2 separate regions of the Homo sapiens genome follow, and region 1 is linked to region 2. The links are contacts of gene promoters, found by promoter capture Hi-C in blood cells and fetal thymus (Javierre and others, 2016). All regions are on one chromosome and are shown on one strand. Each heading gives the region's core, a stretch centred on a gene start or on the middle of the fragment in contact. The rest is flanking DNA. Distances are from core to core; before and after follow the strand shown. Region 1 overlaps SH3RF2 (SH3 domain containing ring finger 2). Region 2 holds the start of GRXCR2 (glutaredoxin and cysteine rich domain containing 2).

Region 1 (3,064 bases), core at 43-2,542, 190 kb before region 2:
CCTAGCCTGTTATATATCTGCTAGGCACCCATAGGTACAGTATTTGCTTTAGCCAGTCTCTATCTCAGGGCCTAATAAAGCGTTCTGTGGTACTGCTCAGGAATGATGTCTTTCTTCCATGTAATGCAACCCTAGTATCCCCCACTAAGATCTGAGTTTCTTCATACGTTCTGATCCTCCTAATATCTAGCCAAGGTCTGGGCATTTATGAAATGCTTATAGTTGTATCTAAAAGCTTGGAGTAATGGGCAACTGGGGCCTAGAAAACTCTGAATTATTTCTATAATTCAGAATAAGAACTCCCAACCTTTATATATGTCAGTGCTTTTTCCAATACCTTTCCCTATGAGCTGATAGCTTAGCAGTAAGAGCATGAGTTTTGCATCAGATCTGGATTCTACTCCACACGTATGTGTCAACTGTGCGGTCTTGGGTAATGTTCTTTAACTCCCTGAGCTGCCATTTCCTAATTTTAAAATGAGGATGAAACTAATGCCTATTTGAGAGGGTTGTTGTCAGGATTAAATATATGGGACACATGAAGTACTCAGCACAGTGCCTGCCAGCTTGTTAGTATTCGATAACTGGTTAACCAATGGGGGAATCGCATCCTCTTTCCGTTCTGAGGGGAATGGACGATGATGGTGGAATGATGCTGATGGCGGTGGTGATGGAGGTGGTGATGGCGATGATGTGATGATGGTGATGTTCATAAATTAAGACAGCAATAAGCATCACCTAACTTTCTTACTGTCCTCTCTTCCCACTATTCCTCCTGCTTCAAGGATATTATTGAGAACATAAGCCTTTTACAAAAACTCTCACGTCTTCTAGTGGGAAATATCCTGGACTAGAAGTTAACAGATCTGACGTCTGCCACAGAGGTCACAATAAGGTAGTTGGAGTCATTATCATTCAGTGTGACCTCGATGTCACTTACATTATCCTGTGCCTCAGTTGCCCCTTTTATACAATGCATAATTATGTGTCAAACCCTATGTAAGCACTTCACATATCTCGTTTAATCTCCACTCCATTACTGTGTGGCCATTACTCTTTCTACCTCCATTTTACAGATTATGCAAACTAAGTGACTCAGAAGGGTGAAGTATTTTGACCAAAGTCACCCAGCTAGCAAGCAGCAAAGCTAGAATTCAAAGCAAGATTCATCTAATGCCAAAGTCATGCTTTTTTTTCAAGCCACTTTTGGGCCTCAAAAGATGTATAAAATATTCAGGAAACATAAAGGCGAATCAGTAACACATGTAGGGAGGGCGTGGGTGATGTTGGGGATGTTGGCCATGGCTCAGTGGGGAGTTGGGGAGGAGGAGTGTTATGTGTGAGGATTCTTTCGAGGCTGCAATTTTGGTTCCTTGTTCACCAACACTAAAATCTCTGAGCTGAGACACTATGCATAGTACGGGATCGAAAGAGTTGGGCCCCCAATGTCACTCTGATCCTACCTTTTCGATGCCATTTCTTGAGTTTTCTGGTTTCACCAGGATGGATGGTGGGGCAGATGCGGGCGGTTTTGGCAGAGGCTCACTCTTGATGGGGATTTCTTTGTCTTCCATAATGAGGGAGCTGGCCGCGGAGTGGATCCAGGCCTCACTGCCCCTGCTGATGCACGTGAGGGCGGGCTCCCCCGTGAGGGCAGGCTTGGACCCCATCTCCACCACCACGGCTGAGGGGGAGGAGGGGATCCCCTGTGGCTGGTAGAATTGGAACTGCTGAGGCCGAAGGACCATGGTGGGGCTGCGTCTGAGGGAGCCTACCACGAGAGTGGGGATCCCGGACTGGAGGGGTCTCTGCAGGGATCCATCTGGGGAATTATAGGACAGAGAGATCAGCAGCAGGGGCGGCTGGCAGTAGGTTGGGTGGGGCTGGGTAAGCAGTGCTTCCTGATATCCCAGAATAGACAAGCGCTTTCCTAATCTGACTGCACTCACATTCTCTCCGGGTCTTTCAAAGGTGACCTTATTCTTTTTTTAGTGCTGTTTGCTGATGCTGGCAGCAAATATCTCTCTGGCTGAATGGTGTGTGTGAGTGTGTATGTGTGTATGTGTGTAGGGGGGCTGTCAGAAGGTATATTGCTTCCATTTGCCTTGTGATACACACACACACACGCACACACACACGTACACACACACACGCGCGCGTGAAGCAGACACAGAGGCAGTCAGACCAAATAGGAAACACATGACAGAATCAGAGATAGGAAATAGAAGACATTGAGAAACACAAAGGAGAGGCAACCGAGAAGAATGAGAGAGAGGAAAAGGAGAAAGAGAGGAGGAGAGAGGAAAACTCTGCCCAGCGACTTGCTGTGAAAATCTTGACAGAAGCTTTAGGCATGTGGCAGGTGGGGGTTGCTTTTTGTCGGGGGCTGCAGGGAGAAAGGGTGAGTGGCAAGGGCTAGGCAAGCACAACAGCAGACAAAGGCAAATTTGGAAAGGTTATTCCACAGTTAGGGCTGTGAGGATGGGCTTTGCAATGTCTCATGACAGAGGATCTGGAATCAGACCTCCTCCTGGAAAGCCTGGGATGAGTTAAGTCACGTCACCTCTCTGCACCTCAGTTCTCTCGTTTGTAAGCTGGAGATAATAACAGTACATCATTGGGCTGCTGTGAGGATTGCATTCTATTTGGTGTGCAAAGTATCAGGATAGTGCCTGGAATATGATAAATGCCGCATGTCTGTTAGCTATCATTATTTTTGGGTAAAGGATCACATATCCTAAAAATGCAAGGTCCAAGAGCTTGGTTTTGTCCCTTCCTGAGCTCATTGTTTTTCTTTTCCTTTTTTTTTTTTTTTTAAATTGAGATGGTCCTGTCTCAGGAAAAGGTCATTTCTTCCCCTCAAATTCTCTGGAAGGCAGGAGATCCCCATCCATTGGACATATATCCTGTAGGTGACCTGGGGAATCAGGAGTTCATTGCATTCTGTGGGGAAGTGGAGGAGACACCCATGAGAAACACACTGGGCCATTTCTCCATAGGGGCCCCTCAGCATTTAGAGAAGCTGTAGGTTTTGTCCCAGCCAGCGTTGTTAGTCCTTTGTGAC
Region 2 (2,839 bases), core at 62-2,561:
GGCTGAGGCATGAGAATTGCTCGAACTCAGGAGGTGGAGGTTGCAGTGAGCCGAGATCGTACCACTGCACTCCAGCCTGGCAACAGAGTGAGACTCCGTCTCAAAAAAAAAAAAATAAAATAAAATAATAAAAAAAAAGAATCCAAGCGAATGGCTGTAGGGGAATAGGAGGGGTCAATTTGGGTAACTCAGTAAATGGTGATGCTGGTAGCAAAGACAGGGAGAAAGGCTTTACTCCACTTTCAGCTCCTCACATCCAACCTACCATTTTCTACCCAGCCCAAGGGCCCTTTTCTTTACAAACCTTCTTCCATCCTTGTCTCCTTAGAGACCACTTCCTTCCCAGAGTGGCTATTCTGGGATTCAGCTGTGGGCAGTTTGCTCTCTAAGCATGAGGTTATTATTTCACCTGTGTGAGGTCTGTATGGGATTGTAGGACTGTTCTCAGGCCCAGGTCACATGCTTCTGTGCTATTCACTCCAGCCACTAGTTCAGTGTCAGGCATTTACGAAGTCCAACAGGCAATGGGGACTTGTGCTGTGATTGCAAATGAAATCTTAAATGTAAAATACATACCAAGTGGAGGTGCTCTGGTTAGCGTAGGGGGAGAAGGCCCAGAATCCAGGACCCTCGGCCTTCTCCTGTTCTTAGCAGCAGCCTCCAAGAACCTCCACTGTATCTAGGACGTCATTCCCTCTTCTAGAACCAGAACTGGAAAACTTCTGGTTGTGTGGGCTGATCTTGGGTTTTGGAGTCAGATAGATCTGGGTTCAAATCCCTGCTCTGTCACTTACTTAGGTGTAATAGAGCAGACAAATGATGAAGATAAATGACAAGTGGCTCTAAGCCTCACTTTCCCCTGTGTAAAACAAAGGTAAGATTTTCTTTGTAGGGTTATCGTGAGGATGAAATAAAATAATGCATGTAACAATCTCTGGTACTTATGAAATGCTCACTAGATTTTAATTGTCATTGCTAACAATAAGAAGACACTTGTTAACTAATTGAGTGTCTGATCCTTATTGAATTGGCACATGTTCAGTCTAAATAAACTTCTTCATCCTCAGGTTAAGAAAGGTTAGGGTTGGGGTGAAGTCATGGTGAGCTTGGGATTATGAGAAGAATCAATCTTGTCTTATATTCCATCCACTCCATCAAACCAGAATCACCTGCCTTTTCATGAGGGTCTATCAATATTTAATGTATGGGTGTCAGTTGCTGTAAACTGACCATACCCCAGCAACAACTTGAATTAATTATATGCAGGAGGAGAGAAAATAAAATGCCTTTTTCTCAGAGGCCCAAGTTTCACCGGCTGCACGGAAGGCTGGAGACCACAGGGTCAACTTTCTGCTGATGGAGGACCCTGAGAAAAAGCTGAATCAGAAGAGTGATGGCAAACCCCGGAAAGTACGATTTAAAATCTCCTCCTCCTACAGCGGTCGAGTATTGAAGCAGGTCTTTGAGGATGGGCAGGAATTAGAGTCACCAAAGGAGGAATACCCTCACAGTTTTCTGCAAGAGTCTCTTGAAACAATGGATGGTGTTTATGGGTCTGGGGAAGTCCCCAGGCCCCAGATGTGCTCCCCTAAGCTGACTGCTCAGAGGATCAGTGTGTTTAGAGAGGGTAATGCCTACACCTTGGCAGGCGGCCAGCCTCGGTTCAACGATTACAAGGCGAATGACCATAAGGTTGGTATTGTGCATGGCATATAGGCTTTAAGGGTAGGGCTTCCTAAAACGTGTTTAGAGAAACTCCTAAATGGTTCAGATTTGTGTCTTGCTCCCCCTCCGGTACCAACCAGAACTGTTGGTGCACCAAATGGGAAGTTGTTATTAGACGAATATTTCTGGGGTAAAAATAACATGCTTGTTGACTACTAATTGGAAAGTGCAATGAGCATATATAGTATTCAAATTCCATCCAAGGTAATACATTGTAATTGGATCTTTGACTGAGTTTTCCTGGAATGTAAATTAAATAGAGGTGCAGTGGTTTTCAGGTTGTCAGACTGCGGTTTTAGACAATTATGCAGTCATTTTGTTTCCTGAAAGAGCTGAGTATTTGAAAGTGCTCATTTTACTCCAGCCAATTACTCAGCTTGCAGTTTATCCATGTCTTGTTTTTTACCCCTATTGCCTTCCTCATACTGCCTGCTTTGTCTATTTATTTTTCCTTTCCATTGCTCCTTAGCATAAGCTCTGGGTAGTTGGAGTCCTGGGAAGGGATGGTGAAACGCAAATCAGCCAGAGGATATGTTATGTGAGGAAGAAGTTTGAGCTAATGGTTCGATTGAAGAATGTGTTTAATCTATGAATTTCAATTACTTCCCAGTACCATGGATAATCAAAAGTCCATACATGATTTTCTTTTAAGGTAGAACCTGGAAAACATACACTGGTATCCAAAAATTCATAGGAGATGTATATATGCTGTCAGTGGGACCATGAATGACTTCTTAAAAAAGATAAAATACAATTATATAATGTATCCACGTTATTAATGAATAGCACACCAGGATGTGTTCTCATCTTTAAAGTGTGAAAGCCAGATAATTACTCTTGAATTATTTTTATTGTTAGTTTCCTAAGGGAATAGATAACACATCTATTGCAGACAAATGTATTACTGGCTTTACTGGCATTGGTAAAAGTATAATTATGGGCATGTTCACAATTACCGAAGATAACACTAGGCTTGTTTTTGATATTAAAAGGGGCTGAAATGAATGACCTCTTATCTTAATGGGGTGACGTATGCAGTACAAAGTGTCATCATGTACTATCTCTGTCTATATCTATGGCATTGGGTCTTTACTATAACCTTGGGGAGAAAGGC

Evidence for each region. Contacts are between HindIII fragments. The CHiCAGO score rates a contact against its expected background, and 5 or more counts as called.
Region 1: a contact is called between a fragment that was not itself captured here and the fragment with the promoter of GRXCR2 in region 2, in 1 of 17 cell types (M0 macrophages). The highest score is 5.3, in M0 macrophages.

Annotation. Positions count from the first base shown.
Region 1 is chr5:146,058,624-146,061,687 of GRCh38, reverse strand. It overlaps SH3RF2 (SH3 domain containing ring finger 2), which reads right to left. Exons shown (of 10, transcript NM_152550.4): 9 at 1,464-1,822. All of the region lies in intron 1 of LOC107986458 (a long non-coding RNA gene), which reads left to right. Among named protein-coding and RNA genes, the nearest start is that of PLAC8L1, 45 kb to the left of the region's middle. The HindIII fragment of the contact is 2,110 bases long and covers 238-2,347 here.
Region 2 is chr5:145,871,486-145,874,324 of GRCh38, reverse strand. GRXCR2 (glutaredoxin and cysteine rich domain containing 2) reads left to right here and starts at 1,311. Exons shown (of 3, transcript NM_001080516.2): 1 at 1,311-1,692. The coding sequence starts at 1,357. The HindIII fragment of the contact is 6,212 bases long and covers 1-2,839 here.